Regions from separate parts of the Homo sapiens genome. Here all the other regions are linked to region 2. Evidence: promoter capture Hi-C in human tissues and cell types (Jung and others, 2019). All regions are on one chromosome and are shown on one strand. The core of a region is centred on a gene start or on the middle of the fragment in contact, and the rest is flanking DNA. Distances in the headings are between cores, read along the strand shown.

Region 1 (3,079 bases), core at 391-2,890, 310 kb after region 2:
GTGAGTGGTATCTTTTCCTAAGATTTTTATTGTTCTCGCATTTCTGGGATAAATTGTACTTATCATAATGTATTAGTATTTTCATACACTTGGATTTGATTAGCCAATATTTTATTTATCTTTTGTTCACAATTATGATGGCTTCTAATTTCCTTTCTTGTGCTGTTTCTGTTTTATAGTATCAGTTTTGTGTTTGACCATAAAAGAATTTAGTCAGTAATAGTTTTTTAGTGCTTGAGATAGAAAGGCATTTCAGAGACCTGGACATGTTTGTTTGACCAAGCAGAGCTTTCAGAAAGTCTAGCTGTTTGGAAATTTATGAATTACTTCATGTGTATTACAGGAGGGTCGTTTTCTGTTTTCAGAGATCAAGACATGAAACCCATGTTCAAGATACTTTCCAGTGTGTCTTCATGTGATCCTCTGAGTCCAGCCATCAGGCTACCAGCAGCTCTTGGAAACCCTGACATACTTATTCTTAGAAGACTGCTTTCCGGACTCAAAGTGGAACCTCAAATTTTCAATTTTCTTTGTTTTTAAAGCCTACACATAGGTGATGATATATACATGCATATATATTTTGGAGAATTTATAATTCTGAAAACAATGCTGGTCTTATGGAACCCATCCATTCCCCTTTCCCCGTGTGTGCTCCGAGCTGTGGTGGCACGTGAAAAGGGGTCCTTCCAGCAGTGGCCCACAGCCCTGGGCTGCTTACTTGCTCACTTCATTTACAAGAGCAAGAAATACACATTCTTGTGTTGTTTAAGTCATTATGATGTGGGGATTTCCATTACTCACACACCTGATCTAGTAGTAACACAGTAGCCTATTTTAGCAATATCATTTATTCAATAATCCATTCTTTCCCCATTAGTTTTGAGCCTTCATTTATTGTGTACTAAGTTCTGGTTATTTTTAGTGGTTGTAATCTCCTTCTTTCCTACTCTCTTAATCATGGGATTGCCAATATCTGCTCTGTGTTTCTGTGCCATCTATAGCCTCTGGCCTTGGTACTGCTTCAAAACTGATATTTCTAACCTTACTTTGACTTCTCCATTCAGTGAAGTTCCCATAGTTCATCACTCAACTGCTCTCTTTCCATCGTGACCTTCTGAACTAGCTCACACCCAGATGTACTTTTGTTATCTGCCTTTCCCCCTCATAAACATGGGCTGCTGCTGGGGAAAATCCACTACCGAACTCTTGCAGGTCTCTGCAAATGTTTAATGCCCTGTCTTAGCCATGACCTCCACAATGCTGGGCTATCCTATGTTATGTCCCCTAAGATATCCCTTCTCTCTTACCTTTGGGGATAGTCCTAAGCTTCCATCATGGCACTCAAAGTCCAACCTTATTTGTACCCTCATTCTCTGAGCAGACACCACCGTATTCTGTTTCACAGAGAAAATGTGACTGCTGGGGATAATTCTTTCAACTTCCTGGCCTCTTCCTATACATGATCTTTCTCTGTATTCTTGCCTATTGCTCTTCCATGTTGATAGAAGTGTCTGTTCTCCTTGTCAGTGTCTCGGCCTTGGATCTGTCCCCTAGACTATTCTGCCTGTGTAAGGACCTTCCCTGACCAGCTGGGCCACCATCTCCTGCTTCTCCAATCCCTCACTCTAGACTGACTCTTAACCTTTGGTCAACAATACTTGAGCTTTTACATTCATAATGGAGCATCTGTGTTGAACCTTGTTCTTTTCTAGACACTACCCTCCGTTCTGTCTTCCATCCATGGTGACTTTTCTAGAAAGAGCATCTATCACACTGGAGACAGCAAACTCCTTGATCCATTCTAATTCCTAACCCTGCAATAATTTTCTATCTCCCTTACTCAAGTAATTGGGAGTGCTCCTAGTGTTACCAGAGACCCAGCAGTTCCCAATTTCGAATTTTTCCGTATTCACATTTCTTGACTTGCTATGATTTTACATCACAGATTACATCCTTCATTTGAAGAGACTCTAATGGAAGGCTGCCATGGAAACTCTCTCATGTGGCTGACCTCCTACCTCACTTGCTCTTTCTGAATGAAGTTCCCACTTTTGCCTGCCTTAATGAAAGTAATGCTCCCCAAACTCAAGCCCAGGGCTGCGAATTGGAAGCAGCTGGGGCTACTGTTTCTGGGTGCTGGTGTGAATGGCAGGATGTGAACACCAGCCTGTGACGGGCAAAAAGATGGACACACAGGCAGAGCCTGACAGGTGCTGGTGGTCCTATCTGGTCCTGAGTTGCTGGGACCCTCCTTGCCCACTGCCCCTAGAATGGACTTTGGCCTCAGGTTCGAAGTGTTCAGATGTGACTGAGATGAGCCTTTTCCCCATGCCTCAGGAATAGCGAAGAAACTCTATCTGGAAGGTTCCCCAGGCTTCCCCACCCAGCAGCCTCTGGTATTAGACCAGGCAGTGGCTGGCCAGGATGGTGGGGACAGAAGGGAGACAAAGGTGAGCAGTGGGTGGGGTCACATCCTCCCTGACATTGAATAGACAACATGGGGAGGAAGGATGAGTGATCTTTAGAATGTTCATGGAAAATGCATATTGGGAAAAAGAATGCATGAATTTCAAATTGTTTTGCAACAAAATAAACTTGTACTAACTTGTGAAAACACGTCCGAACAGGATCTAGTTTGAGGCCCTAAGAAGTATAAGACAACAGTTTGAACAGAGCTCCTATCAGACACATGAATTCTGCTAAAATTGAAACCAGAACAAACATGCAATTGATGGTGAAGCTTGGCTGGAAACATGGTGAAATCATTGATGATTTATTGAAAGTTTATAGGGACAATGCCTCAAAGAAATCAGCAATTTAAGTAAGTGGATAACTCATTGGAAGAAGAGAAGAGATGATGTTGGAGAGGAAGTCCACAGCAGCAGGCCAGCCACATCAGTCTGTGAGGAAACAATTCATCTTGTTTGTGCCCTAATTTAAGAGGACTGATTAATAGCAGCAGAAACAATAGCCAACGCTGTAGGTATCCCAAGGTGTTCAGCTTACACAATTCTGACTGAAATTAAAGTTGAGTAAACTGTCCACTCGGTGGGTGCCAAAACTTTCTCCCAGCTCAGCT
Region 2 (3,059 bases), core at 21-2,520:
GGCAGAGGAGTGGGAGGGACATCCCGGGCCTGGGGAGCTAGTGCTGGGCACTGGGGGTAAGGAGGATGCCTCAGAGAACAGATCTGGAGAGGGGCCCGCAGAGGCCCTAAGGGGAGAGCAGCAGGCCAGGACAGTGAGACCTGGGCTGACATCCTGGGGTTGGGAGTGGGAGCCCCAGGTGGCCAAAAACAGTGCCAAGTCCGGCTGGGGCCTATCCCCGCCTCCAGGGAGTAGCCCGAGGAGGAAGGATCTCCAATTCCTTTTCCCCCCACCCCCCTAAAGTGAGGTTCTGGTGTGGGGGGGTCCCTGAGCTGTCTCTGAGGAAGTCCTAGCATACAGGGCCACAAACAGGTCCAGCTGGTGCCGCCACCTGCTCACTGGGTGGCACCCAACCCGCTGGGCCACCAGGCTGAGCTAAGGCACCGGTGGGAGCCGAAGGCAATTAGGAAGGCCGGGTGGGCCATGGAGCCCGGAGGGAGCCAGCCGGCAGGCCGTGGGGGGCGCCCCTGGGGCCCAGGCTGCAGGCTCATGGCTCATCCCCAGGCTCAGGGAAGCTGGCCCCTGGGAGCCAGGTATCTAGGGGCTGCCCAGCCAGCAAGGGGCGGGAGCCTCTCCTGTGTCCCGGAACGGGGAGGGGCCCGGCGGTCCACTCAGGGAGGCTGGGCTCCTTGGACCTCACCGCAAGCACCACCAGTGCCAAAACAAGAAGCGGGGGCGGGTTCCAGTGCTCCGGGGTGATATGCCGGGGGCGGTCAATCCTCCCTTTCCGGCCAGGAGCTCTGCAAGGTCCCGTGCCCCCTCCCCTAGTCCTCAAGGCTGTCCCTCCCGGCCCACGTAGAGGAGCCAGGAGCGTCTGGAGTTGGGTGATGGGCTCCAGTGGCTGCGCAGCCCTGGGGCGGCCGGGAGGCTCCTGGCGGCAGTCTCCGCCCGCTCCCGCCCCAGATCTTTGGAAACATTCGGGGAGGCCTGCGGGGGATGGGAGGAGAAGCTCAGCTCTCTGGGGACCAACCCACCGGCAGCCCCAGCCCCTCTCCTGCGCCTCCCCGTGCGCCCCTCTTGCTCTCTCCCACCCTCTCCCGCCCCGGCCCCCGCAGGGCGCCTTCCGCCGCGCGTGGCTGAGCCGGGGCCGCGTGCACCGCAGCCGAGGCCGCCGGGTCTGAGCGCGTGCGCGCAGGTGGCGGGGGCGTCCCGGCCGGGGGCCCGCGGACTCACCGCCGGGCGGACGCAGGTACCAGCAGCCTGGCCGAGCTCCCCGAACCTCGCGCGCTCTGGACCGCGGCTGGCCCGGAGCCTCCCAGGCAGCCGCGCGGCCCCGGGGCGGGGGCAGGGGCGGGACGCGGGAGGGGCCTCCGGCGGGCGGAGTCGGCGAGCCCGCGGTGGGGGTCCCCGCGCCGCCCAGGCCTACCCCGGCTCCTTGGGATAGATGGGGAAGCTGAGGCCCAGAAGGGGGCTGAGACCACCTCCCAGTTTCCCCAGTGAGGTGGCGCCTGAGCCACGGCCAGGCCCGGCCTCCTTCCACCCGGCCCTGCTGTGCGCGCGGCGGGTGCTGACCTGGCGAGGCCGGACAGGGGACCAGGTCGGGGTGACCGTCACTGACACCTGGACAGTCCTCGTTGTGTTCGGGGTGGGAAGCCCACGGGTGAGCAGACGTGTTTGGGTGTGAGCACGGAGGAGGGGTGCCTCGGAGAGTGTCGGGGAGCAGTGTTGGGGGTCTCGCCTGCGGAGTGGAGCTCGGGAGGGGAGGACGCAGGCACCCCCGCAGCCTGGGATTCCTGAGGTCATCTTGTCCCTGCTTCCCGCTCCAGGCTGGGCTGTTCCTTGGCCATCCCTCAGGCGGGGGTGGGGAGACCGGCAAGGGTTGGGAGGTGGGAGGTTGTGGGTGCTGGCTTCTGCGAGGGCACTGAGGCTCTGCCATCGGTGGGTGCCTCTCCTCCCGCCAGGCCCTCTCCGAGGGGCTGTGGGCGCTGGGGCTCTGCCACCGGCCTGTTCTCCAGTTGACAGTGCGTTTCCTTTCTGGGTGACAGGGCGAGCACCAGGGAGGGGTCTTCTGAACCCCACACGGGAGTAGGGGGAGGGTGTGCGGAAATGTGAGGGTGGGCAGGTGGCCATGTGGTCAGGAGGGGGCTGGGGCTGACAGACACCTGTAACACCCCTGTCTCAAATCTAGGGGTGCAGTCAATGTGGCTGTGTGTGTGTTTTGCATGAGTGAGTGTGTGTGGTGCGTGTGTGTGTGTGTATGGAGGCTGAGGCTGGGGCTGTGTGTGTCACGAGATGTCCTGGCCGTGGTATGATGGCATCGTGGGTGGGGCTTCCACAGCTTTGGGGGCGATGGCCCAGCTGTCTCTGGGGACAGGAGCCTCCAGTAGGCTGTGGCCCGGGGGAGTCCCTGCCTCTGGGTCTTACGTGGGGCACAGGCAGGGCATCTTCCCCTCTGGAATGTTGGCGGTGAGGGCAGGGGGTTCTGTCTCTGCAGCCGGCACCTGGGGCCATCCCTGCCATGGCAGGGGCTCAGTAAGAACTGTGGGACGAAAGCACGGGTGGGTTTGCCCCCTTCAAGACAGGACCCTCTGATTCAGAAAACAAGCTGCATTAGGAGGAGGGCTGTTTGGAAAAAACTCTCAAACCATTTATCCTGTCTCTCACTCAACACAGAAGACATCAACACAGGAGACTCCCAAGACTGCTGGGGCCAAATGTGGCAGGTGGACGTCTCCCCGCCACCGAGCAAGCCATCAGTTCTGCAGCGGACACCAGCCGAGTGTCCTCCAACACCATTCCGGTACCTGCAGATAGCGTCAGATCCAGACACCTACACACACACACACACACACACACACACACACATATGCACACACATGAGCTGCGAGGGCCAGCCTCTGGAACTTCTTACCGACTGGCCCGACGTTGAGGTTCCCACTGTTAGAGGAACGCTTGCTCACCAGGCCTCTGGTTTAATGAAACATGACCAGAGTGACTCCATCTTGAAGTGAGTAGGAGGCACTCACAAGGCACCTATAAGGTTAATGCTTATGGTCTAAAAATAGCCATGTCTCAAGCTG
Region 3 (3,318 bases), core at 201-2,700, 340 kb after region 2:
CCTGCTGTAGTGTTTGAATGCTGTATGGTGGGTGTGCAGCTCTAAAACAAATTTTGAAAAATGGGGGTGCTCAAATCAGGCCAAGGGGATGGGTAGGAGCTTGAATGGTAGCAGTCCCTCCCCCCGGAACGCTCTCCTTCCTGTGAACTTTCTGGGTCCATCCTCCCAGCAAGGAGGGGTCATAGATGAGTCGCAAGGCTCAGAGAGGTCTGGCCACATGCTCCAGGCAGCACAGCAAGTGCAAGTCCTGGGAACTGCCCTCCCACCCTCTGCAGGGACGTCCTCCTTTCAGGGGCCAAGCTTTGCTCCTGTTAGGGCGGAGGCTGCAGCCCATGTGACCAGGGCCCTGGTCCAGACACAGCCCTGGATCCGGTGCCCGCCTGGGGTGTGCAAGGACAGAGGGTCTCTCTGGCTTATCCAACAGGTGTTTATTAAGGGCCTACGCTGTGCTGAGGCTGCCATTCAGGGAGCCCCACGAATGTGAGGCCTGGCCCCTTCCTCCAGGCCTCCAGGCCCCATCTCTGGAGACTCCCAGGAACTCACGTCGACTCCTGTCCTCCAGTTCTACTCAGTCCACTTCATCTCAGCCTTTACCGGGCCCTCCTGAGTGCCTGTCCCCTGCTGGGTGCGGGGGACACCACGGACCAGACCTGGCTCAAGTCATAGATGGGGTGGGCAGGGAAGGCTTCCTGGGGGAAGAGGTGCCTGAGCACAGGGTTAAGGGTGGAGAATGCTGGGCCATGGAAACAGCAGCAGAGAGGGTTGGAGGGGCCATCTGCAGGCGGATCTGTGTCAATAGAGCCGATCTGCCGGGTGGGAGTCCTGGAGAGGGCCATGGGAGGGTCAGGGTGGGGGACAGGGGCGCAGACATACATGGTCAGACTTGCGTTAGGATGTGCCTCAGGAACCAGGACAGGCTCCCACTGGGCCGGGTGTGTGAGGAGTGGCACAGAGGCCTGGGGCACCACACCCAGTGTGGGCTGCAGCGGGGCCCCCCAGAGCCTAGAGCTGGCCGGGTCCCCAGAGCAGCAGGCCGAGTGCAGGGAGCAGCGCAAGGATGGCAGCAGCCGGCTGCAGGGCATGGGCCCCGCTGGCGTTGCACAAGTCGGTGTCACAGCACGTGATGTTCTTCTTGCCCACGTAGTAGTCCTGTGAGTCATCCACGCAGTTCAAGCTGCAGCCTTTGCTGATGACGGTCAGGAGGCCAACTGCGCCTGGGGAGCAGCGGGATCCGGGGATGGGGCTGCCCTGTGTGCTCACCTGCCTGACCTGCCCCAGGCCTCCTCCTGTCCCACCCTGCCTAATGCTCTAGAGTCCCCCTGGGCTGGCCTCAGGATTGCAAGCAGTGCGAGGGCCTGGTCTCGGCCCTGGTCTCAGCCCTATCCAGATGTCCGAGGCAGATGGACCACCCGCTGAGCGTCAGAAATGGGGTGAGTGAGTAAGTGAGCTCAGGGATGGGGAGGGACAGATGGGTGGAGGAGTGGAAGATGGAGGATGGGGAGGGACAGATGAGTGGAGGAGTGGCAGATGGAGGAGGATGGCTGGAGGGACAGATGCTGGGTGATTGTTGGGGGTGCAGGTGCGGGACGGGTCGGGGACAGGTGGAAGGAAAACAGCACACAGATGCGGACAGATGGCCAGAAAGATTAATAGTTCAGTGGCAGAGACCTAGGCCTGGCGGCTGTCGTCCCCCCACTCACGGATGCGCGCGGTCCAGCACTGCTCCCCCAGCTGGGTGCAGTTCTCCACCTGCAGGCAGTCCTCGTTGCTCACCTGGGCTTTGCAGGAGTAGCACAGCAGGGCAGTGCCTGTGGGGTGGAGTGGGAGGGGCCTCAGAGGCTGCCCCATAGCACTCCCCAGGAATGGGGGCTCCCAGGCAGGTGGGCCTCCATGGCGGTGGCCTGAGGAAGTCCTCGGCGCCCTCTTGTCACCCTCAATGTCTCCTCCCCATCTTCACGGCCCCCTGCTCAGTGCCTCCGAAATGTTGCCCTGTTTAGTCCCTCGGTGGCTGCTTTTGTGACCGTGTGTTTCAGAAGAGGAAGCTGCGGCTGTGGGGGTGACTGAACCCGGGACCCTGGGTCGGGAGGGTCCCACCTCAAGCAGAGCAGCTCCCTGGGACCCTTGGAAGCTGCAGTGCTGGGACTGGGCCGGATGTAGACCCCCGGGTCCTCGCAGGACACCCCCAGCACCTCCCCCTTGTGCCCCAAAAACCACTTCTTAGCCTGAGGCTTCCTGTCCCATGTCTCCCAGCTCCTCATCAGCATCTCTGCCCATCCATCCGTCAGTCTGTCTACCTGCCCCCTAGGAGCCAGGCCCTGCCCCACGGTGGTGAAGGAGAGTGACTCCGTGCTGCCCCTGCAAGCCCCGGTCACAGGGGACGGCAGGGAACAGGTCGCTGCCTGGTCGTGCCAAGAGCTTCCCTGGAGGAGCGGAGGCTAGGGCAAGAGCCTCACCCCCTTCCTCTCCCTTCCTCCTTCCTTCCCCTCCTCTCCGTGTGCCCTGCAGGTATCCCTCTGGCCTCCCCGGCTCACCCCTGCTCCCTTCCCTGCTGGGGGCCAGCCAAGGCCTCACCTGGCTGCAGGGCCAAGCCTGCCATCAACAGGGCAAGCAGCACAGCCTTCGTGGTCACTGGTGGGCTGTGGTGGAGAGGGCCTCAGGTGACTTTATATGGCCTCAAATGGGGAGAGGCTGGACTGCCCACAGTCAACACCAGCGGGTTTCCTGGAGCCAGTGAGGGCCCCGGGGCTGGGCAGGTCCGAGTCTCCTCCCTGAGCGACCTGCACCTCCCTCTCCCTTTGTCCTTCTTTCCACCTCTGGAGGACAGAGCCTACCCAGGGCCATATCTCAGCCACCCCGGGCTGAGGGCTGAAACGTCCTCAAGACCCAGATTATGCCTCTCCCACCTCCCCCACCTCACAGTGCAAGGCCAGACAAGGGAGACCCTTTCTCCAGACTCCTCCAGGCCTCGGCCTTCCAGCCAAGGATGAGGGCACCTCCCTGGGCCCTGTGCTCCTATAGAAGCTGTGCCGCCCTCTGGGGCCCACGGCCCGCAGGGTGATGAGCCTTGGTCACAGCGTCACTGACAGATCATTAGCAGGTGCTGCAAAGGACAGGGGCAGGGGCTGTTCCGGTATAAACCAAAAGTAACATTCTAAGGCCCCCCAGCCATCTGAGTGGAACCCTCCTCTTGGCAAGGGCTTTCCGAAGTTAACCTGAAAAACTGGTTCAGGCCATGACAGCAAAGGGTTGGATAGCCTCATTATCCCTCCTCCCTTCAGAACTCTGGAACAGCCAGCGTTAACATCAACACAGGCCTTC

What was found. Contacts are between HindIII fragments. The study calls those that stand out against the background at their distance.
Region 1: a fragment that was not itself captured here is called in contact with the fragment with the promoter of LY6E in region 2 in 2 of the 25 tissues and cell types used here (dorsolateral prefrontal cortex and mesenchymal stem cells).
Region 3: a contact is called between a fragment that was not itself captured here and the fragment with the promoter of LY6E in region 2, in 1 of the 25 tissues and cell types used here (spleen).

Annotation. Positions count from the first base shown.
Region 1 is chr8:142,704,866-142,707,944 of GRCh38, reverse strand. LY6K (lymphocyte antigen 6 family member K) reads right to left here. Exons shown (of 3, transcript NM_017527.4): 3 at 2,818-3,079. It overlaps LNCOC1 (lncRNA associated with ovarian cancer 1), which reads left to right. Exons shown (of 3, transcript NR_038925.1): 3 at 366-3,079. Among named protein-coding and RNA genes, the nearest start is that of LY6K, 6.3 kb to the right of the region's middle. The HindIII fragment of the contact is 5,820 bases long and covers 1-3,079 here.
Region 2 is chr8:143,016,740-143,019,798 of GRCh38, reverse strand. LY6E (lymphocyte antigen 6 family member E) reads right to left here and starts at 1,270. Exons shown (of 4, transcript NM_002346.3): 1 at 1,213-1,270. It overlaps LY6E-DT (LY6E divergent transcript), which reads left to right and starts at 1,409. Exons shown (of 2, transcript NR_026913.1): 1 at 1,409-1,639. The HindIII fragment of the contact is 17,617 bases long and covers 1-3,059 here.
Region 3 is chr8:142,679,817-142,683,134 of GRCh38, reverse strand. It overlaps PSCA (prostate stem cell antigen), which reads right to left and starts at 2,640. Exons shown (of 3, transcript NM_005672.5): 1 at 2,572-2,640; 2 at 1,701-1,808; 3 at 410-1,214. The coding sequence starts at 2,596. The coding sequence ends at 1,003. RefSeq lists an enhancer at 1,249-1,895. The HindIII fragment of the contact is 7,457 bases long and covers 1-3,318 here.